7 separate regions of the Homo sapiens genome follow, and all the other regions are linked to region 7. Evidence: promoter capture Hi-C in 16 types of primary human blood cells and fetal thymus (Javierre and others, 2016). All regions are on one chromosome and are shown on one strand. Each heading gives the region's core, a stretch centred on a gene start or on the middle of the fragment in contact. The rest is flanking DNA. Distances are from core to core; before and after follow the strand shown. Region 1 overlaps PSKH2 (protein serine kinase H2). Region 2 overlaps ATP6V0D2 (ATPase H+ transporting V0 subunit d2). Region 3 holds the start of PSKH2 (protein serine kinase H2). Region 4 overlaps LOC107986954 (a long non-coding RNA gene). Region 5 overlaps ATP6V0D2 (ATPase H+ transporting V0 subunit d2). Region 6 has its middle 40 kb from the start of PSKH2. Region 7 holds the start of CA13 (carbonic anhydrase 13).

Region 1 (2,974 bases), core at 309-2,808, 810 kb after region 7:
CCAAACTCTTTGTCCAATGAGTGAGAAAACCTTCTCAGAAATCTGTCCATTGTGCTGTTGTTATCAATACGAGTTCCCATACTGCATTTACGGGAGCTGGACAAGGCAAAGCAGCTGTCTTTTACGAACTATGTCAACATCAGGTCAGTGTTTGCAACACTGTGGTCATCTCACAGAGTTCCTGTGACTTCAAGAATGAGAAGGAGTAGAAGGGGAAAGTGGAATGGATTGAGAAATCATCAACTTTTCCCTCCCTTTGAAAGCTTACTCTGAGCCAGGCACAGTAGCTCACGTTTGTAATCCCAGCACTTTGGGAGGTTGAGGAAGAAGGATCGTTTGAGTCCAGGAGTTTGAGACCAGCCTGGACAACACAGCAAAACCCCATCTCTACAAAAAATGTAAAAATTAGCCAGGCACAGTGGCACATGTCTGTAATCCCAACTACTCAGGAAGCTGAGGTGGGAGGATTCCTTCAGCCCAGGCATTCAAGGCTGCAGTGAGCTATGATGGCAGCACCACACTCCAGCCTGGGTGACAGAGTGAGACCCTGTCTCTAAAAAGAAAGAAAGAGGAGAGAGAGAGAGAGAGAGAGCGAAGAGGGGAGGGGAGAGGCAGAGAGAGAGAAGAGGGGAGGGGAAGGCAGAGAGAGAGAGAGAGAAAGAGTGAGAAAGAAGAAAGAAAGAAAGAAAGAAAGAAAGAAAGAAAGAAAGAAAGAAAGAAAGAAAGAAAGAAAGAAAGAAAGAAACGAAAGAAAGAAAGAAAGAGAAAAGAAAGAAAAAGAAAGGAAGAAAGGAAGAGAGAAAGAGGAAGAAAGAAAGGAAGAAAGGCAGAGAGAGAGAGAAAGAGGAAGAAAGAAAGAAGGAAAGGAGGGAGGGAGGGAAGGAAGGAAGGAAGGAAGTGAAGTGCACTTCCTCAAACACACTGGGCCCTCACTGTTCCCAATCAGCTGAGAACAAATAGATTCAACATGTAACAAATAGATTCAAATAGATTTGACTACAAATAGATTCAACACGTAACAGCTATGACACAGTACAATATGCACAGCTAAGTAGTTCCTATTTCAGGGATTTATAGTGGCAGTGTTTACAGCAATTGCACATACTTTAAATACAATAGCAGCACTTCATAGTGGCATTTCTGAGCATGGGAATAAGAAGGCTGTTGCTTTATATTCAAATTTGCTTTCTGCATTATCTGCTGAGAAAGAAAAGAAACAATTTAATCTGAGGAATGCAAGCCCCTTTAAATTATCAGGCCAAGAGAGGCACTGAAATATAACAGCCTTCACTTCTCATTCTCCTCTTGTGCTAAATAATTACCTCTTGAAGCCACTTGCTATGTGGGCTCTACGCTATCTAACACCAAGTAGCCATAAAGTGCCATAGGTTGGACACCATCACTCATACCCCACAGTTCAACAATATAGCCAATCACTAATCAATGTTATTTATGTAAACCAGTGTTAATTCCTCTCAAACAACTTTGTATCAGCCCAGACCTAAGAGCACACGCCCCACAGAAGTTAGGACGTTTTCCAGAGCAGCTGTCCCCACTTTGGCCTGATCAGACAAGCTCTTAAAAACTATATTTTGTGCCTCAGCCTCATCCTGTAGGTTGACTCTACCAGCACATACCGTATACCCGGAAAACACTACAGTTTAGTGTCCTTTGTCCTCTGCAAAAGAGAAACATTGAGAAAATTGCCCATACGTTTGCTGTATCTCAAACACAATTTCTAATTGATGTGTGTTTTTAAAAGATGGTATTTCCAAGGAAAGATAAGGGAATCCTTCCATGTATTGTCTCTGCCATTGTGTAACGATAAAGCAGAGTCCATACATAGACATCACATTCTCCAATCTCTTAGCACCCTATTAACTCTATGTTTTGTTTTTTGTTGTTTTGTTTTGCTTTTTTTAGAGATGGGGTCTTGTTATATTGCCGAGGCTGGACTTGAACTCCTCCTGGTCTCAAGCCATCCTCCTGCCTCAGTTTCCCAAGTAACTGTGACTGCAGACCCACTCCCACCCCCACCCATGCCAACTTAACTCAGAATTTGTTTGTTTGTTTGTTTTTGAAATGGTGTCTCATTGTGTTGCCCAGGCTGGAGTGCAGTGGCATGATCGTGGCTCACTGCAACCTCCGCCTCCCGGGTTCAGGCGATTCTCGTGCCTCACTCTCCCATGCTGGGAGAGTGCCTCACTCTCACATGCTGGGATTACAGGCATGTGCCACCAAGCCCAGCTAATTTTTGCATTTTTGTAGAAACCGGGTTTCGCCACGTTAGCCAGGCTGGTCTCAAACTCCTAACCTCAGGTGATCCGCCTGCCTCGGCCGCCCAAATTGTTGGGATTACAGGCGTAAACACTGCCCCCCGCCTTAATCCAGAATTTGAATAATAAGAAACCAGTAAAAGAACTCTTCTTTTTTTTCCTTCAGTGTATTTAGGTAAATGAGACATGAGAAATATTTATCCCAGAAATAAAAGTTATAAAATAAATAAGCATATCTGACAAATACTCAAACACAGGAAAAACAAAATATAAACTCTGCAAGTCTAGAAAAAGCACATCAGTGACTGACACTCACAATGCCATGCCCTCTGGTTCTGGCTAGACATCTATTTGGCCCTGAATCCAGACAAATCTATCTGAGCTCAAGACTATTTAAATGAAGGTTAAATTAGATGGCTCCTCTGGAACATTTTAAGACAAGCAACTGAATCTTTCTGAAAGAGTATAAAATATGTGCAACAAGGTTTATGGAGAGCTTATTAAGATGACCCCAAATGATTGTACGTTTAAAATGCAGTTGAAGAAAATAAAGTAACCGGAGAAAAAGTTCTTCAGCCAAAGCTTATTATTCAAACATGAGTTATAAATTGCAGAATTCCTGAGCCATAAAGGACAACTGGAGAGTATCTAGGAGTCAATTTCACATTTCACATTAGAAAAGGGCAGCTACAGAAAGA
Region 2 (3,012 bases), core at 287-2,786, 880 kb after region 7:
TTTCAGGATGGAGACTGAAATCCACACTTATCCATTGTCCTAGTTTTATTTTAACTTGTTTATTTTTTAACTGAAAATAAGCACGTGTGTTTAAAAAATGAAAGAGGTTTTTTACTAAAATGTATTTTGTGCTCACTACACAAGTTAGTACCTTTATAATCACTTTCCTGTATTAAATTTAATAGATTTTCACAGCAACCCTATGGAGTGGTACTAGTATTGTTGGCTTTTTAGAAATAAGACGATGGATTGAGTAAAGACTATACTTCAGAATTCATGTCACAGAGCCCAGAGGTAACCACTCAAAACTTTCATGCATATCTTTCTAAACTTTTTCCTTGTGAAAAATGTTTTTTTATATGTGCATGTGTTTATATTTAAACACAAATATAAATATGCATAGTTGGGCTTATTGTTTGTTTTAGAACAGTGAGATCATACATGTATTGTCCACAATTTGTCCTTTTAAAATGTAATCTATTATAATTTTTGCATAAATATATAAAGATATATTTTATTTAATATATTTTTAATTTATGTATTATTTACTTAATTTAATTCATTAACTTATTTGTTTTTCTGAGACAGAGTCTCACTCTGTCACCCAGGCTAGAGTGCAGGTGTGTGATCTTGGCTCACTGCAACCTCCACCTCCTGAGTTTTAGTGATTCTCCTGCCTCAGCCTCCTGAGTAGCTGGGATTACAGGCATGCACCATCATGACCAGCTAATTTCTGTATTTTTATAGAGACTGGGTTTTGCCATGTTGGCAAGGCTGGTCTCGAACTCCTGACCTCAAGTGAGCCACCTGCCTCAGCCTCCCAAAGTGCTGGGATTATAGGCGTGAACTACCGTGCTCAGCCTATATATATATATATATATATATATATCTTTTTGTATATAGTATAAAGTTCAGGTGTACATGTGCAGGATGTGCAGGTTTGTTACTTAAGTAAACGTGTGCCTTGGTGGTTTGCTGCACAGATCATCCCATCACCTAGGTATTAAGCCCAGCATCCGTTGGCTACTCTTCCTGATGCTCTCCCTCTCCCACTCCCCTATAGTTATTTATTATCTGTAAATAACTATGTTTGAAATGAACATGTAAAACGACTTACTCAAAAGCACACAGCTCTACAGTGGCAGAATTAGTACTGGAATCCAAGCCTTATGTCACACTAAATATGTATTAAATATTTGTGAATGAATGAGCTAACTAGTCCTTATGTTCATCACTGCTACTGCCAATGTATATAGAAAATTTATTTCACCCCAGGATAAATATAAATACAGAAATTTAGAAAGAAAAAAGATATCACCTCTAGCTGGAGACAATTGAAAAGCTTCATGAAAAATATGATACTAGAATATGGCCTTAAAGGATTGGTAAGGAAGGGAAATTTTATACCTCTGGAGAAGGGTAGGAACCAAGACATTAATGTAGAAAAGGACAAGTTAAGTTTGAAGAATTTTTAATCTAAACAGTTGGGTTAGACCAAGATTGTAGAGAATCTTAAATACTGAAGAGGTTTCTTAAAATTCCAGAGCAACCAAGGGCTTGGGAAATGCAAAGTTATCAGCATTCTTGTTCTAAAATATGCTATTATGGCAATGCTGACTTGTAAGTAACTTTTCAGTATTTTATTTTGCTTCAAGGAAAAACAAGTGTGACAGCAAAATTGTTTGCTTTTTCAAATTATTTTAATTTTCACTTCCTCTATTTAAAAAAGGGAAGCTTCAGAGAAGGAAGAAATGTTACCAAAAATGTGAAATTTTAAGAGAGAGAAGAATGTTTATGGGGATATTCTAAATTCAGCTGACTAGGAAATCACGCGATATGACAGGGTTTCCCCATGTAAGCATATGTGGTTAGTGCTGGATTGAACAAATCCACAGTATAACAAAAAATGTTTACCAATGTAATCAAGGAAAACTTTCATTTGAAAATTCATACATTGAAAAAGTGTGAAATATATTTGGTGTACTTTTATAAATTATTTAATTCCTCAATGAAACTCGTAAATGAAAGGTGCCTTTCACACACACACACCGATCCTTTCCATGAACAATGACCCCTGAAATGCTTTTTTTTTTTTAATTGAGACAGGGTCTTATTCTGTCACCCAGGCTGCAGTGCAGTGGTGTGATCATGGCTCACTGCAACCTCAGCCTCCTGAGTAGCTGGAACTACAAGCAGTCACCACCACACCCAGCTAATTTCTGTCTTTTTTGTAGAGAGGCACCTTTGCCATGTTGCCCAGGCTGGTCTCAAACTCCTGAGCTCAAGCGATCCGCCTGCCTTGGCTTCCCAAAGTGCTAAGATTACAGGAATGAGCCACAGCTCCCAGCCTGAACATGCATTATATGTCCCTATCCTTGTACATTCTGTATGTATAATTGTTACCTAGCCAACATCTCACATAGTTCTCTGGTCACCTAAAACAAAATGGTTGTCATTAAGAATTAGATTACATGTTGCAGATGAAGGATGTGGATCTGGCCTCCTAGGTAGAAAGGAAACCTGTAGCAATCAAGGCCTGATAAAAGGATGTGGCTTTCTGGGCCAGGCACAGTGGCTCATGCCTGTAATCTCAGCACTTTGGAAGGCCATGGTGGAAAGATCACTTGAGCCCAGCAATTAGAGGTTGTGGTGAGCTATGATTGCGCCACTTGGGTTTGGATGACAAAGACCCTGTCTCTAAAAAAATAAAATAAAGCTGGGCAGTGGCTCATGCCTGTAATCCCAGCTCTTTGGGAGGCTGAGGCGGGCAGAGACCAGCCTGGCCAACATGGTGAAACCCTCATCTCTACGAAAAATACAAAAAATTAGCCGGGCATGGTGGTGGGTGCCTGTAATCCCAGCTACTCAGGAGGCTGAGGCAGGAGAATCACTTGAACCTGGGAGGTGGAGGTTGCAGTGAGCCAAGATCACATCATTGCACTCCGGCCTGGGCAACAAGAGTGAAACTCCATCTCAAAATAAATAAATAAACAAACAAACAAACAATAAAAG
Region 3 (2,960 bases), core at 266-2,765, 820 kb after region 7:
TTTGCTGCTGCTCCTGCTCTCTTTTTTCCCATCCTCTGAACTCCCTGTTCAGAGATGTCAAAGAGAAATTGTACTGGGCACTTATGGAACACAGCAAGGAAGGCTTATCCCAGACTATTGCAATAGGAGTCGAGGCTTCTGCAACAGGGGAAAGAAAATGGACGCCTTCGAAACAAAAGGCAAGAAAGTTTTTAAGCGCTGGGGTGAGCCAGTGGAAAAGAATGGGAGAAGCTTAGGGAGAGGTGGTCAATGAGATCTGTGTTTGCTACCTGGCCCTTATGGAAGTTAGGCTCCTGCCCTCCCACAGAGACTGGGAGACAGTGGCCCTAACTCTCTTGATGACTACATTTCAAAGGGATGGCTGCCAGGTGCCTGAAAAAGACACTCTTGGGTTGTAGAAGATTTACATCTCAAAAGGGCAGAGAAAGGGGGAGATCAGTGCCTATCATCCGAAAGAACCCTGTCCAAAATTGAGTCAAGCTGAAGGGAACCTCGAGGCGGTCTTGGCCAGGGGTTTTTCTTTGTCAGCCCAGTCCCAGGCCAGTTCCTCACGTGGCGCTTTACCTGGCAAGGACCCGGGGGTCGAACTTGGCTCGGAAGCGAGCCACCTGTATCCTCTGCGCCGCCTGGGCCGCCGCCTCGGGCCCAGGCCCCGCGCCTCCGACGCCGGCTTGGTTTTGACCTTCGTGCTTGGCCCAAGCCAGCGCTGGTGGCCCCGGGACCACCTTCCTGCTGGCGCCGCACCCCATACCCGCAACACGCCCGCCGCTCGCGGGACCTGGGGACTCGGGAAGCAGCCAGCCCCGTTCCTCCGCCCTTTATCAAAGAGCAGCTGCGAGGGGCGGGACCCTCGGAAAGAAACCCCACTGGGGGGTCGTGGTCAGGGAGACAGCCCCCAGGATACCCGCTAACGACCGAGACGCCTGGATCATCGCTGGTCACCGTCTGTGTGTGTAATCTGACGTGATGAAAGCAAAGTCAACCAACAGGCAGAACCTGCGCCTAATTGTCTGGGCTTCACTTTCTGCATCTCTAACCTGACAAAGTGAACATATAAAATTATACGATTGTATAAAGGATATCGTCCCTCTAAAGAACTTTTCGCTGAGCTCATATTCGGATGACATGAACATTAAACATACATATATATATATATTTAAAATTCTAAGAGCTTATAATATTTAAAGTATAACTTCACTGCCTTCTATTGCATTAAACGGATGACAAAGGCCTGTGTCTGGCACTCATGACCTTCATCTTCCGGGTAATCCATCTAAGAGAGAAAAACTGAGGGCCACGATAGATGTCTAGAACCCAGACGAACACCCTAAGCAAATACAGTGAGAAAACCTGTATATACATATACAGTGTATATACAAAACCCGTATATACAAATATAGTGAGAAAACCTGTATATAGATATAAATATATATAAATAAATATAAATATTATGTATGGTAACTTTACATTTTCTATATATTTCATTCTTGTATTATTTATACATATTATACATGTATGTGAATGTGTGTATATATATTATACACACACAGTATTATAATACTTATAAATATTTATCATTTTGATAAATGTATATTGATTATATCACTATATTGATTAGATTTCATTGATATTTGTCAATTATATTCATTCACACACACACACACACACACACACACACACACAAATGATGTGTGGGAAATGAAATCCAGTCACGACCAAGCAAGTCAAGATCACATGCCTCCCAAGTTGTAGAACCGGAACTGGAGGCTGCTTCCCGATTTCCAGGCCAATGCTACTTCAATTTGTGTAATTTCCTTTCTAATTTCATTTAATTTGTAGTTTGGCTTAACAGGGAATGTCTGTGATGAATAAATTAGTCATGAACTTTCCCAGAGCTATATTTTGATGGAAAATTTAAAATACGGCTTGCATATAGCTGAGGGAAAATTAGTTCATCCTGCAAAGAGAGCATAACTACCAAATAATGGACTTTTCTTCCTAAAGAACCCTCAGAATTCTCCAACTACTAAGAAACAAGGAAAGAAGGTTTATTTTAAGCAGGTAAACAACTCGTTCTTATATGTCTCGAGCTTTTGAACTAATTTGCAGAATAGGCTATCTATTAGGTTAGAGCAAAAGTAATTGTGTCTTTGCCATTAAAAGTAAAGGCAAGGCCGGGCATAGTGGCTCACACCTGTAATCCCAGCACTTTGGGAGGCCAAGGCATGTGGATCACCTGAGGTCAGGAGTTCCAGACCACTGTGGCCAACATGGTGAAACCCCATCTCTACTAAAAATACAAACATTAGATGGGCCTGGGGGTGCGTGCCTGTAGTCTCAGCTACTCAGGAGGCTGAAGCAGGAGAATTGTTTGAACCTGGGAGGTGAAGGTTGCAGTGAGCTGAGATCGCGCCACCACTGCACTCCAGCCTGGGTGACAGAGCAAGAGTTCATCTCAAAAGGCAAAAGCTGCAATTACTTTTGCACCAACCTAACAGTATAAACAGAATGGAAGAGAGAAATAAAGGGAACAAACTGAAGTCAGATGTTAAGGTACTACTCAAAAAAACACAAAATTTTTTCCTCAGAGAGCCTGTTGTAAGGATTGTTTGCATAAGGATCGCACAGCAAATAGGAAGCATCTGCTATAAAACCTAAACCTGGGCAGCAGTGAAGGCGCCAGACACTTCCACGAGGCAGGCAGTCCCTCTGCCTGTCCACCTTCTCCCAGCAGTGAGGGCCTTCATAGTAGGCTGCAGAAACCTCTTCTGTCCTGTCTGCAGCTGGCCGCACAGCAGAGAAAGCTTTGTCACAAGCCTCCCACTAAGTCTAAACCATGTTCCTTGAAAATTGGAAAACACAGTCGCTGATTTTAAAGCCCTTAAAAAATGAAAACATTGATGAAACCACTGATTAGTTCTCTTTTGGAAAGCCCCAACTATTAACTAGAAGTGTTGTTG
Region 4 (2,914 bases), core at 326-2,825, 730 kb after region 7:
ACTCTGTTATATTTTATCTCAGCCTGAGGCTGGCCATTGATAAATTGTGTCTAAAACATACTCTCAGTGTCCATGACTACCCTCCACTACAAACGACATTGGCTCCTTGCCCTCCTGTTTATTAAAAAAAAATTATTGAGCATCTGCTTCATAACCATCAGTAAGTGATGTCTTCATACATAGAGAGTAGTGAGCTACTAGTAATAAGTCAATGACCAACTTTCTTCTGTTCACTTTCTTAGTTGAAATATTATCTATGCATTTCACCTACTATGTACTAAAAACATCTGTGAATAACTCATTGGGATTCAGTGACCCAGATGGACAAAGTGCCGGCTCTCAAAAAGCTTAGATTCTAGTGGTGGGAAATAAAATAAACATGAAAAACAAACAAGAAAAGGACTAGATAGAGTGTTAGTACTTTGAGTTGGGTGGTCAGGAACTAACTCTCTGAGAAATGCAAATTTACTCTCAGATCTGAACAGTAAGTTTAGCCAGTCATATAAATATTCTTCCAGCAGAAGGAACAGCTAGTGCAGGAGAAGGAAACATATTTGACATGCATAAGAAATAGAATTCTCCAGTTGAACATGTTCTCCATTTCACCTCCTGGATTTTCTACCGGTTTTCCATAAGATGGGACGATTTTCAGCTAGCATTCTCTTGCAAGTTGGATAATTTCCTGCCCTGTTCTGAAAATGACACCAAAAAGAGTCCAAGTAAGACCTTTCTCAAAATTGCTTTATATCCAGAGCAATAGCCTAGAAAAAGCATGTCATTTCTTTAACAAAGTGTTGGGGGTTTGTTAAGGTTCCATTCATGCTGAACACTTTATACGCATGACCTCATTTAGGCTTCACATCACTCTTATGATAAGGGAAAAATATTATCTTGCTATTATAGATAACTACAGCACACAGTTAGTAAGTGGTAAAGCTAAGATTCAAACTCAGGTTTCTCTGGAGCTTCCTCAAAGAATGCAGAAGCAGAGGAGCCTATGAGTAGAAATGACACTACTCAGAAGCAAGCTTCTACTTCTGCATACTGTGCAAGTGACTAAGAGGTTAATGGAATCTCCAGCTGTGCCTCTATGACCAGAATACATGCACATGCACTCAAACTCACACATGTACTCACAGACATACACACACATACACACACTCACTTACACACACATTGAAAACCCCAGCTGTCTAAACCCTTCTCATTTCTGATGGGTGATATCCTCACATAATGGTGAGGAACACCAGCATTACTATACAAGGAGCACTATGTTGTCTAAAAAACTGGGGCCTCAGAAGTTTAGGAAAATATACCAAAGAAGGAAAAGAAGTCTTTAGGTTGTGCAAAATGGGAAACAGAACGTATCAATTAGGTCTTTTGTTTAGTGGAATACAGCAATTTTTTTTTAAATCAAGTCTGATTTCTCAAGAAGTTTGTAATCTAAATGGGGAAAAATTAATATAGGGAACTACTTTAGCAGGGGTAAGCAATTATCTGAGAATGGAGATTTACATGTTGGAAGAGGAAAATTAAAAAAAAATACAGAGTTCAATAAAGACAATAAACAATGACCACTAACAGAGATCGTTATTATTATATCAACACAAAGCGGTTCATTTAACTAAATTTTACTGAAAGTTTTAAAACCAGTCTGCCATTTGGAAAGCAGCCAGATCTGAAATATCAAGTATATTGTGGATACAAGAGTAGTTCTTCAATTATGCAGAGCATCCAGATGCGCTAGAAGATGAAAGTAAGAGAAATTTAAAAGGAAAAAATCGTAGAGTGGAACAGGGTACATCCTATTATCTGTTAGGTACAAACCAATAGACATTTTAAAATTACCATAACCACAATGTTCCCTTTGATGTGGGCCCCTTAAGAGAGTTACAGAGAGCTATGAGGCTGTATCATCACATATCTCCAGATTAAAGCCTGTCAGTAACAATATACACTGATTCACTGCAGGGTTGAAACATACCTGTGTAATCAAGCAGGGAATCCATGGATCACTGGTATAGAGCATCAGCCACAGTCTCATCAAAGGAGAGATTGTGATTGGTCATGGCTTTGCCATTTTTATAATTGCTCTTTTTGAACCACAAGTTACTAAAAGAACAAAGCTTTTATCACAGATAGAAAAGAAAATGTTTTCTTATATTAAGCTAACCAATTAAGTTAGTTCTGGAAGGTTTCTCTTTGTCTAAATCGGAAATGCTTGACAATACTTTTAAAACCATTTTTAACATTCACAATAATTTGATTTATATGCTATTTATCAGACATACATTACATGGACATACATACATAAACCATGTAAAACCGTGTCAATGATATACTATTCAAATACGCACACACATACATATGTGTGTGTGTATATATATGTATGTATATATATATATATATGTATCCTCAGAGAGATACTGGATATTGAATTAAGGAACACAGCAAGTATAAGGTCTTGGAAAATAAAAAATATTATAGCAGAAAAATATTTCAACAAAAAGGCTCAAAGATAAAGAAACGTGATACAGAAGTCAAATATCTAATAATTGAAGTTCCATAGGGAAGAAAGAAGACAGATGAAAAGAAATGATCAAAAGAATAAATCACAAAACATCCTAGAATTTAAAGACTTGAAATCCAGATTAAAAGGCCCACTGAGTCCCCACTATAATGAACAACAACAACAAAATGATTTAAACAGGGATAATCATTATGAAATTTCAGAATATAGGAATAAAGAGAAGATTCCAAAATTTTGAGAGAGAACAAAAAGATCATTTATTAAGGATCAGGTATAAGAATAATATCATAGTCTTAAGGCAACACTAGAAACTAGAAACAAATAGGGGTACATTGTCAAATTTTTTATGAAAAAGATTTTCAATCTTGCATTCCATACCCAGCC
Region 5 (3,191 bases), core at 62-2,561, 860 kb after region 7:
CTTAAACTTTTCTCTCTCCTACCTCCCTAAGCCTAAGAGTGTATTTTGCATGTAGTAAGAATCTGAAAATACACACTGGAAATATCTACATATTGGGTTCAAGTCCTGGATCTTCTGCTTTATGGTTCTGGGATTCTAAGCAAGTGCTTAACCTTTAACATGGTGCTTTTTTTTTTTATTTTTATTTTTTTATTTTGAGACAGGGTCTCATTCTGTTGCCCAAGCCAGGGAATGCAGTAGTGGGTAGCGTGATCATGGCTCAATGCAGCCTCAATCTCCTAGGCTCAAGTGATCCTCCCACCTTAGCCTTTCAAGTACCTGGGACCACAGGTGCATGTCACCAAGCCTGGCTAACTTTTTTGTCATTTGCAAAGACAAGGTCTCACTTTGTTGCCCAGGCTGGTCTTGAACTCCTGGCCTCAAACAATCCTCCTGCTTCAGCCTCCCAAAATGCTGGGATTACAAGCGTGAGCACTGATAAGTGCTTTCTTATCTCATCTTTAGATGGTATCTCCGTGGCCTAACTCCCAGTTCACTGGGAGGATCCAAAATATCTGAAGATGTTTTGTAAATTGTAAATCTTAACAATACACCCCTGCACTGTAGTTTACATACAACAAGAATTTGTTTTCCCTCTTCTGCTAGACTTTGGAATTCCTGAAATAGTTCTTTCCATTTTATGGTTTTGGATAGTGGCATTTGGATATGAATCCATTTAGTTTATTCTGTTCTTCAGAGAGCACCAGTTTTGAAAATATTTATTTTGGTAAGTAAAAATTAAAATGAAGATTTTCAACCCTAGTAAGATTTACTGGACTGTATAATGAAGTTCTGTGGGGCCACTGCTACATGGATCTTAAGTTTTAATCACAAATTAATATTTGAGGCTCATTTATGTGGCAAAAAAATGCATTTGGAGCTGTGGAGAGTACAAAAAAGAACAGGCTGGATGCAGTGGCTCATGTTTGTAATCCTAGCACTTTGGGAGGCCGAGGCAAGAGGATTGCTAGAGGCCAGGAGTTCAAGGTTGCAGTGAGCTATGATTATGCCACCGTACTTTAGCCTGGGTGACACAGCAAGAATCTGTCTAAAAAAAAAATGACACCATTTACTACCTAGACAACTGTGTAGTTGATAGGATGTCACAAATAAGTAAAATGAGATAAAAATTCAGAATCCAAAAATGGTTCAAACCTATTGATAGCAGATATACTTGAAGGTGAACCAAATCTTGAATAATAGATTGATAAAAGGCCATGAAATGGGGTTTCAGGAGGAGAAGAATTGAGATGTCAGGACATTCAGCAAGCAGATAAAACAAATGAATTTAAAAAGGGAAAAAATAAAAGCCTGTGGATGGGGAGTATATCAGTTAGGCTGCAATACTAGAATACTTGGAGAGAAGGCTGGAATTCAGGCTGGGAAAACTCTGAAAAACCTTGAAGGTTTGATTTGAAGTTTCAAGATCCTGACGCTAACACTGAATGAGGACAAGAGTCAGGTATGATTCTCAGTTAACTACTTGCCAGCGTGGAAAACAGGAACAAGTTACTTCTCTGAGCCTCAGTTTCTTCATCTATGAAATAGGATTATTGTTAAAGTTAAGAGATTATGTATACTAAAACCATTCTGGCAATGGTAAAACGCTCTACAAATTTTATAAAAGTTGTTTTTAATCTGCCTAAAACTTTTCAGTGGCTGCAAGCTATTTTTAGGATCATTACAGTACCAAAACAATTCTTAGGAAAGATTAAACTTGAGGCGGGGAGCACATGAGGAGAAATGAGCCTGGGAAAATCGATTCAAAGATTGCTGCAGTAATCGAAGTGCCAGATGTTATTCAAAACGGGAGTGAGCAGCAGAAATCAGGGAAGAAATGCAGGGCATTTGGAGTAATAAAGCACCAAAGAGGACTTTGAAGTTTCAACACCCTGAGAACGGCAATATATTAGCAAAAATGGAGAAAGAAGTGTCTGGTTGTACATCTTCCGGTGTATTTATTAAAAGTCTGAGTAATTACCAGATTTGATGGTTGATTCCAATATGTTAGTTGGAAAAATTCTGGTTTAGAGGATAAAAGCTGAATTCCTTAGCAATTTATTTTGGAGATAGGTGGGTACAATTGAAAAAACAATATTTTGTGGTGGATTCTCTATGCTGGCTCTTTACCTACCTGAATCATCTTTTTTTGTTTGTTTGTTTCTTTTCTTTTTTGAGACAGGATCTCACTCTATTTCCTGAGCCAGAGTGCAGTAGCTTGAACACAGCTCACTCCAGCCTCCACCTCCCAGGCTCAAGCAATTCTCCCACCTCAGCTTCCTGAGTATGGGGACCACAGGCATGTGCCACCACACCCAGCTAACTTTTTTTTTCTTTTGTAGAGTTGGGGTTTTGCCATGTTGCCCAGTCTAGTCTGAAACTCCTGGCCTCAAGCAATCCTCCCACCTTGGCCTCCCAAACCCCTTGGATTAGAGGCGTGAGCCACTGTACCAGACAACCTTGTTTAATCCCCAAAACAACCTGAAAGCGTAGACTATATCCATTTTGTAGATGAGGAAACTGAGTTCGGAAAATTCAGATAATTTCCCTAAGTTCAGCAGCAGCAGAGTGTGGGGAAAGGCAGGGGGCTGCTTGGATAGAACAGTAGATAGTCACTTCTCTTTATTTTTAGTAGAGACGGGGTCTCCCTATGTTACCCAGACTGGTCTCAAACTCCTGGGCTCAGCAACCCTCCTGCCTCGGCCTCCAGAGTAGCTGGGGTTACAAGCATCAGCCACCACGCCCAGCCAAAAAGGAATTTTCTAAAAATAGTCTGCCAACAAATTAGTAGACAATAACCATGAAGTCTAACTTCCCTATAGCCAAGTGATCTCAGATAATTCCCTTCATGCAGTGACCACAACCCACAGAAAACGCATGTTTATATTATGACTCAGTGCATACATTCAGGCACACATTCACACTATGTGATAGACTCTATTTGTTAAAATGGTGTAATCTATTTTTTTTATTCTATTGCTGTGTGGCACCTATTAAAGTGATTTAGTTGGTAGTGATCCTACAGTTTGGAATATATTCTATTTTCCTTATTTTAATAAAAAGGAAAAAACACCATTTGCCACTCTACCTTTCTAGATAAAAAGTAGTGTAATTTTCCCAAGTGTGCTCTGTGGGCGGCCCATTGTTTTTTA
Region 6 (3,086 bases), core at 184-2,683, 780 kb after region 7:
TGCCGTACTGCTACTTGTCTCATCCCAGAACTCTGCTGAGGAACCACAACATTGGTTACAGCATTTGAGACTCTTTTAATGGCCAGAGTAACAAATGCAGTCATATTTATGCTAAATGGTTCTCTTCCTTATTTTCCAGTGTGGAAACCTCAAAAGGGAAGATATATGCCAGCCAGAAAATATATCCTCTTCCAGACAGTAGTTAATTGCAATGCTATTTTGTAATGTAAACTGTTTTTCCACTGCCATCCCTGAAAGCATAGCATGAAAGGCTCTTCCCAGGCCAGCCACAGCCTCACCTCCCAGCCTCCCTTTTTATCACTGCCCACCACCTGCCCCTACCCCTTCACACTCAACGTCTCTCTGATCTTCAGATAAGCTGTGCTCCCAAACATCATCATGCCATATGCATACATTTCTTCTTCCTAGAATTCTCTTTCTTCTTTCTGCCAGGTGGTGAGCCCCTACTCATCTTTGAGGACCTAGTTTGTGTCACCTTCTCTCTATAGCCTTACTTGACTCGCCTAGGGAGAGTGAATTACTCTTGTCTGCACTATTGCGTGTTTCCTTGAATATCACAAGTATTGCTCTTATTTGCTTTATTATCACTATTTTTTCAGTTATTTATTGTCCCAAAAGCTTGTCAGTAAATATTGGCAATATTGTAAGCCCTGCAACGGAAAACTGTGATTGCAATTGCTATTCTCTGCATTTCAATTTCCTTCTGTCAACATGTGCTTCTCTGTTATGCTTGTGAAACATAAAGTCTTACATACACAAAATAACAGATGCTTTCTTTCCCACCCCAGGTTCAACCAACCTGTTACCTTTAAATTCTATTTAGTTTTCAGCTTCAAGTTCATCATCAACCTCTGATGACTGGGCACTCACTTACAAATTAATAATTAGAACTTAGACATTTTCTTGGCTAATAAAGAAATTGGTCTTGAGCTGTGTGGGTTTGAGTGGAGTCAAATATGTATTTTCAAATATTGCGCTACTCCCAAAGAGCCATTTCTCCCTATAACCGTAGCTGTTAGTTGGCAGAATAATTTCTTAAAGGAGCAAGATTCATTAATGTCTTTACATAATAAATATTTAGTGTGCCTTCCAGGTACCAAGCACTGTGTGAGATCCTGAGGAAATAAGAGCTTCATAGACTTTACAGTCTAGAGGAAAAGACGGGCTCAATTAGCAATCATTCAAACCAATATATAATTCCAACTGTACAAATGCAATAGTGAATATGGGTGCTCTGGACAAAAACAAACAAACAAACAAAAACAGAGACTAAGGATTCCAATCAAGTCTCTCTCAGAAAACAACATTTAAATTGAGACATAAAAAGTGAGCAATAGTTAACCAGGAAAGAGAGGAGAAAATGTTCTGGAATAAGATAGTAACCAGCTGCTCAATTTTGTATGGTCCAGATGTATATTTAGCTTGGCTTCTAGACATGACTACTAAAGTATAGAGTTGTTTCCTAAGACAGTGGACATAACTCACCTTTTAAAATTTCTATTTAAAGAAAATATTCACTACATTTAAACACACTCCTTGATCAGTTGGCTATTAATCAAGATTAATTATTGCTATGCCTTAAAAACTGTGGGAAAGAATTATGGGAAAAGTGACTATAGAGAGCTAGGCTGAAAAGAGTGATTCCAATTGGGTCTTGATTGGTTCTATGAAATCATGAAGAATCCATCTGAATCTCAGTTTCTCAGAATACATGTGGTCCATCATGTATGGAACACTGGGGAGTGAAGTCAAGGAGCTAAAGAGGAGAAAGGAGTCCTGAGCAGAGAGAAGGCCTGGAGTTGGTGCACGGGGCAAAGTGGTCTGTAAGTCAGAGAGGAGCAGTCAAAGCGGAAGATGCAAGCAAGGGAGCTGCGCCTCTTCAGCCTTTCAAAGACTCTTGGCACGCCCACATGAAGAGCCAGCAGACTCAATGTACCCATAGCTATGCTGGTTTTATTCGCCCTCTCTGCACTCCAGCCACCTCTGTAGAGAATCTCCTTTACATTCTAGGTCTTTTCCAGATCCAGGAGAGATTTCAGTTAAGAGTCTGACACCTTTTAAGGTCCATCATGTAAGACATATTTACCATGTATTCTTTCTGAAGCCTGTTACCTGGAGGCTTCTTCTATGTAACAAGAAACTTGGCTTCCACAACCACCCTTATCTTAACTCAAGATTTTTTTCTGCTGAGTTCAACTCTTCAGGCAAAGCTTAACTCTTTCAACCAATTGCCAATCAGAAAATCATTGAAAGTGCCTGTAGCCTGTAAGCTCCCACTTCAGGATGTCCTGACTTTTCATACCAAACCAATGTATATCTTACACATATTGATTTATGTCTTTGCCTGTAACTTCTGTCTCCGTAAAATGAGTAAAACAAAGCTGTAACACAACCACCTTGGGCACACGTTCTTAGGACCTCCTGAGGCTATATCCCAGACCATGATCACTCATATTTGGCTCAAAATAAACCTCTTTAAATATTATGTAAAGTTTGGCTTTTGAAGTCAACACAAGAGTAAAACTCTTAAAAAGCAATTTCTGTTTAGCTTCATAGCTTTTGGAGGCCAGGATATGAAAGGATTAGATTGCCGGGAGATAACAAGTGAGGGCTGGGCAGAGTGGGGGTGGGGGTGGGGGCTAGTGGCCCCTGTGCCCTGGGTGTGTGGCAGTAATGGAGAATGTGTTGGAAACATCTGGAATGCAACTTATATGAGCTCTTGTGGGGCTGGGAGCAGCAAGGATCACACTCCAGGGACTCACAAAGGGCATTGGCCAAACTGAGCAAGTCATGTCACCAGTGATGGGGGATAGAATTGTGGAGGGGGATTCCCTGAGGGAGGCACAAAACCCGCCTTATCTGCCAAGCTGCATTCATAGACAGGGTGGGAATTCTAGGGAGCCACAGATTGCTTTATCCGGAAGAAAAGAGCAAAGTTGTCGTTGGGACCATACAACTGCAGCAGACAATATTCCATTTGTGTAGGCAGGCTTGGAAGATGCCAAGCCCCACAACCCACACAAGAACAGCCATCACTCACTTCACCTCCATCTAATTTATCTTTC
Region 7 (2,812 bases), core at 179-2,678:
ACCTTCTTTCCTGGGGACTGGACCGCCTTTGCAGGACTAACAAATTAGCCAAAAGATTAGAAATTATGGTTTAGGAGTCATACAGCTGGAGGCTGTATGATTCTGACCCTCCCCAAATTGCTCCTGGGAATAACATCACTATTGTAAAGCCTAAGACCAGTGCTTCAGATATGTTGCAGACCCTGCACTGGATGGATCAGCAGGCACCACTCAGCTCGATAAACTGGCTCATCTGATCCCATGGCCCCCACCCAGGAACTGACTTAATGCAAGACAGCTTTGACTCCCTATGATTTCACCTCTGACCCAAACAACCAGGTCTCCCGACTTACTGGCTCTCCTCCACCCACCAAATTGTCCTTAAAAACTTTGATCCCCAATGCTTGCGGAGACTGATTTGTGTAATAATAAAACTCCAGTCCTCTGCACAGCCGGCTCTACGTGAATTTCCCTTTATGAATTGCAATTCCCCTGTCTTGATAAATCAGCTGTGTCTTGACAGTGGGCAAGGTAAACCCATTGGGTGGTTACAAACTGTGTACCCAAGCAATAAAAGTAACAATTTGGGAAGTATTTGAGACCCACCAACCAAAATTTCTTTAACAATTTTGGTCTATTCAGTCATTCATCCATTCATGTAACCACTATTATTGGGTGTCAAGAACTGATACTTACTTAGAACGTTAAGAGCATTATTCATCTTGACATACCAAATCATCCGAGTTACTGAAAATTGGTTTACTAGGTTCCTTACAAAGAGGTTGCTTGGATTTATAAAATATGAGGCAGTTGACCCGAGACAAGGACGTAGAAAGTGGTTCATGTACCCAATTTTTATTTTTCACTTTGAACCCAGAACATTCACGACTCCAGGCCAGAAATTCAAGACTCTGCAGCTAGTTCTGACTCCAGTCCTAGGGTAACAAGCCCACCAAGAATCCAGGGCAGATGTCCTGAAAACCCTTCTTGCGGGGTCAGGAGGGCAGCAGAATTTTGGGACCAAATCTCAACAACTGGTTTTGGTTTCCTCACTCACCAAGCCACAAGCCTGCAGAGTGAGAAGAGGTAAGGAAAGGATGAATGGGCAATGGAGCCAGCCCAGGACCGGGAGCTGGTCCTCTCTAACAGCGACCCCGCCCGCTTTAGCTGAGCGACCCGGGGCAGGTTACATAGTGTCTCTAACTTAAGCCACGTGTTTCTCGAGGAAATGCTGAGAGGATCTAATGGGAAAACGTGGGTACACGTCTTAGCTAAGACCCTCGCCCACGATAAGCCCTTAATAAGTAGTTATTTTTCAGTGGTGGTGATTACCATCGTCATTATTGTTTTGTATTTGTAATCATCACTGCCACGACCATCACCGACCTCTTTTACGCCTCCACCGGGATCCCCACCTCCCAGCCTGGCAGTTCCAGGCTCTGGTGACTCATTCACTTCCTGGAAGTCCTCTAGGCAACACTTTCCTCTCCCGAGTGACGACTCCTCAGAAGGCAGGAGATCCCCCCCGGAAACCTTTCTCTCTCCGTCTCTCCCTCTAACTCAAATCTCTCATTCCCGAGTCCAAACTAAGAGAGACTCGCGCCCCAGGAGTCAGCCAGCGGCGCGGGCGCCTTCCCCGCACGCCTCTGCCGTCTGGAGGACGCAGGCGGGAGCGCCCCGGACCGGGTTCACGGTCTCGCACTCCTGCCGCCGGCGCCCCGCGGTCCCGCCCTAGCAGGCTCCTTCCCGGGCCCCTCCCCGCTCCCTCCTCTTTCTCGCTGCTCAGTCACATCTTTCTCTTCCTTCCACCCCGAGGGACCATGTCGAGGCTCAGCTGGGGATACCGCGAGCACAACGGTGAGCGCCTTTTCCTGATCCAAGGGGGGGTTTGTGCGGGGGACGAGAGGACTAGCGCGACGCCCCGGCGCTCGCTGACCACACACTGGGCTCGCACATTGAGAAACTTTTTCGGTTCCTCTTTAAACTAAGCAGCACTCCTGGGAGCCCAGTGCGAGAAGCGGAGAGCAGTCTTGTCAGGGTAGACGGGTTGTTGGTGGTGGATGTGAGCGTTGGTGTGTGTTATCTCTGTCAGGATTCCCCAAACTCCCAAGTGTTCATACGTGTGAGTTCACCTTCATCTGAAAAGCCAAGGACTTTGCCTAGTAACAGCCACGTATCAATTACAGGCTTGGAGATCAGAAGTCTGATGACACACTTCAGTGAAATAAGGACAAGTTCGCTTTCAGTCTTTTAAGCTCACTATTCACTTAGGAGAAACAAATCATAGAAAATCTTTAAAAATATATTTAGGAAATCTTAACTTGCATTGTGACACTGAAGATTAAGTTGGCTTCGTGGCAAACAAAATACTGCATGTTTCCTAATAGTTGTTACTGTAAATATTCCCACAGCAATTTGCAGTTGGCTGACTACTACTGGGGACTTTAGTAAGGGTTCAGGTTCTCGCTGGGAAATTAAGTTACATTGTGGGTTACTTCTCCACTCTTCTTCTCCACGCTCATCCTTGCAGGGTGAGCAAAGGATTACTGAAATTATAATTCATTGATAGAAATGTATTAATAGGATAAATAATAATGACATACACTTTTCTTCTTGTATATCACACATTATCAAAAGTAAAACATTTTTTCTTGTTCCTACGTTAAACTGAACTGATTGTTTAAATAATAATTATTTGAAATAATCGCAGTGACACCAAAAAGCCTTATAGTGAATAACTGTCAAAATTAAGGCTTAGTTTAGCCATTCCTCAATGTGCATATATTTCAAAACATCATGTTGTACACATAAATATATACAATTTTTGTCAATT

Evidence for each region. Contacts are between HindIII fragments. The CHiCAGO score rates a contact against its expected background, and 5 or more counts as called.
Region 1: a fragment that was not itself captured here is called in contact with the fragment with the promoter of CA13 in region 7 in 3 of 17 cell types (M2 macrophages, M0 macrophages and monocytes); the score reaches 8.9 in M2 macrophages.
Region 2: a fragment that was not itself captured here is called in contact with the fragment with the promoter of CA13 in region 7 in 4 of 17 cell types (monocytes, M2 macrophages, M1 macrophages and 1 more); the score reaches 9.3 in monocytes.
Region 3: a contact is called between a fragment that was not itself captured here and the fragment with the promoter of CA13 in region 7, in 1 of 17 cell types (M2 macrophages). The highest score is 8.2, in M2 macrophages.
Region 4: a contact is called between a fragment that was not itself captured here and the fragment with the promoter of CA13 in region 7, in 7 of 17 cell types (M1 macrophages, M2 macrophages, total B cells and 4 more). The highest score is 12.0, in M1 macrophages.
Region 5: a contact is called between a fragment that was not itself captured here and the fragment with the promoter of CA13 in region 7, in 3 of 17 cell types (M2 macrophages, monocytes and M0 macrophages). The highest score is 10.9, in M2 macrophages.
Region 6: a contact is called between a fragment that was not itself captured here and the fragment with the promoter of CA13 in region 7, in 6 of 17 cell types (M1 macrophages, M0 macrophages, neutrophils and 3 more). The highest score is 8.9, in M1 macrophages.

Annotation. Positions count from the first base shown.
Region 1 is chr8:86,049,005-86,051,978 of GRCh38, forward strand. All of the region lies in intron 2 of PSKH2 (protein serine kinase H2), which reads right to left. Among named protein-coding and RNA genes, the nearest start is that of PSKH2, 19 kb to the right of the region's middle. The HindIII fragment of the contact is 2,595 bases long and covers 262-2,856 here.
Region 2 is chr8:86,125,375-86,128,386 of GRCh38, forward strand. The region is part of intron 2 of ATP6V0D2 (ATPase H+ transporting V0 subunit d2); the gene reads left to right. Among named protein-coding and RNA genes, the nearest start is that of ATP6V0D2, 28 kb to the left of the region's middle. The HindIII fragment of the contact is 392 bases long and covers 1,341-1,732 here.
Region 3 is chr8:86,068,874-86,071,833 of GRCh38, forward strand. It overlaps PSKH2 (protein serine kinase H2), which reads right to left and starts at 795. Exons shown (of 3, transcript NM_033126.3): 1 at 565-795. The coding sequence starts at 749. The HindIII fragment of the contact is 2,573 bases long and covers 230-2,802 here.
Region 4 is chr8:85,975,098-85,978,011 of GRCh38, forward strand. It overlaps LOC107986954 (a long non-coding RNA gene), which reads right to left. Exons shown (of 4, transcript XR_001745984.1): 3 at 1,985-2,112; 4 at 1-692. Among named protein-coding and RNA genes, the nearest start is that of PSKH2, 93 kb to the right of the region's middle. The HindIII fragment of the contact is 1,098 bases long and covers 1,027-2,124 here.
Region 5 is chr8:86,105,946-86,109,136 of GRCh38, forward strand. All of the region lies in intron 1 of ATP6V0D2 (ATPase H+ transporting V0 subunit d2), which reads left to right. Among named protein-coding and RNA genes, the nearest start is that of ATP6V0D2, 8.6 kb to the left of the region's middle. The HindIII fragment of the contact is 3,923 bases long and covers 1-3,191 here.
Region 6 is chr8:86,027,876-86,030,961 of GRCh38, forward strand. No RefSeq gene overlaps it. Among named protein-coding and RNA genes, the nearest start is that of PSKH2, 40 kb to the right of the region's middle. The HindIII fragment of the contact is 1,592 bases long and covers 638-2,229 here.
Region 7 is chr8:85,244,030-85,246,841 of GRCh38, forward strand. It overlaps CA13 (carbonic anhydrase 13), which reads left to right and starts at 1,429. Exons shown (of 7, transcript NM_198584.3): 1 at 1,429-1,836. The coding sequence starts at 1,800. RefSeq lists a silencer at 1,684-1,763 and an enhancer at 2,124-2,233. The HindIII fragment of the contact is 11,713 bases long and covers 1-2,812 here.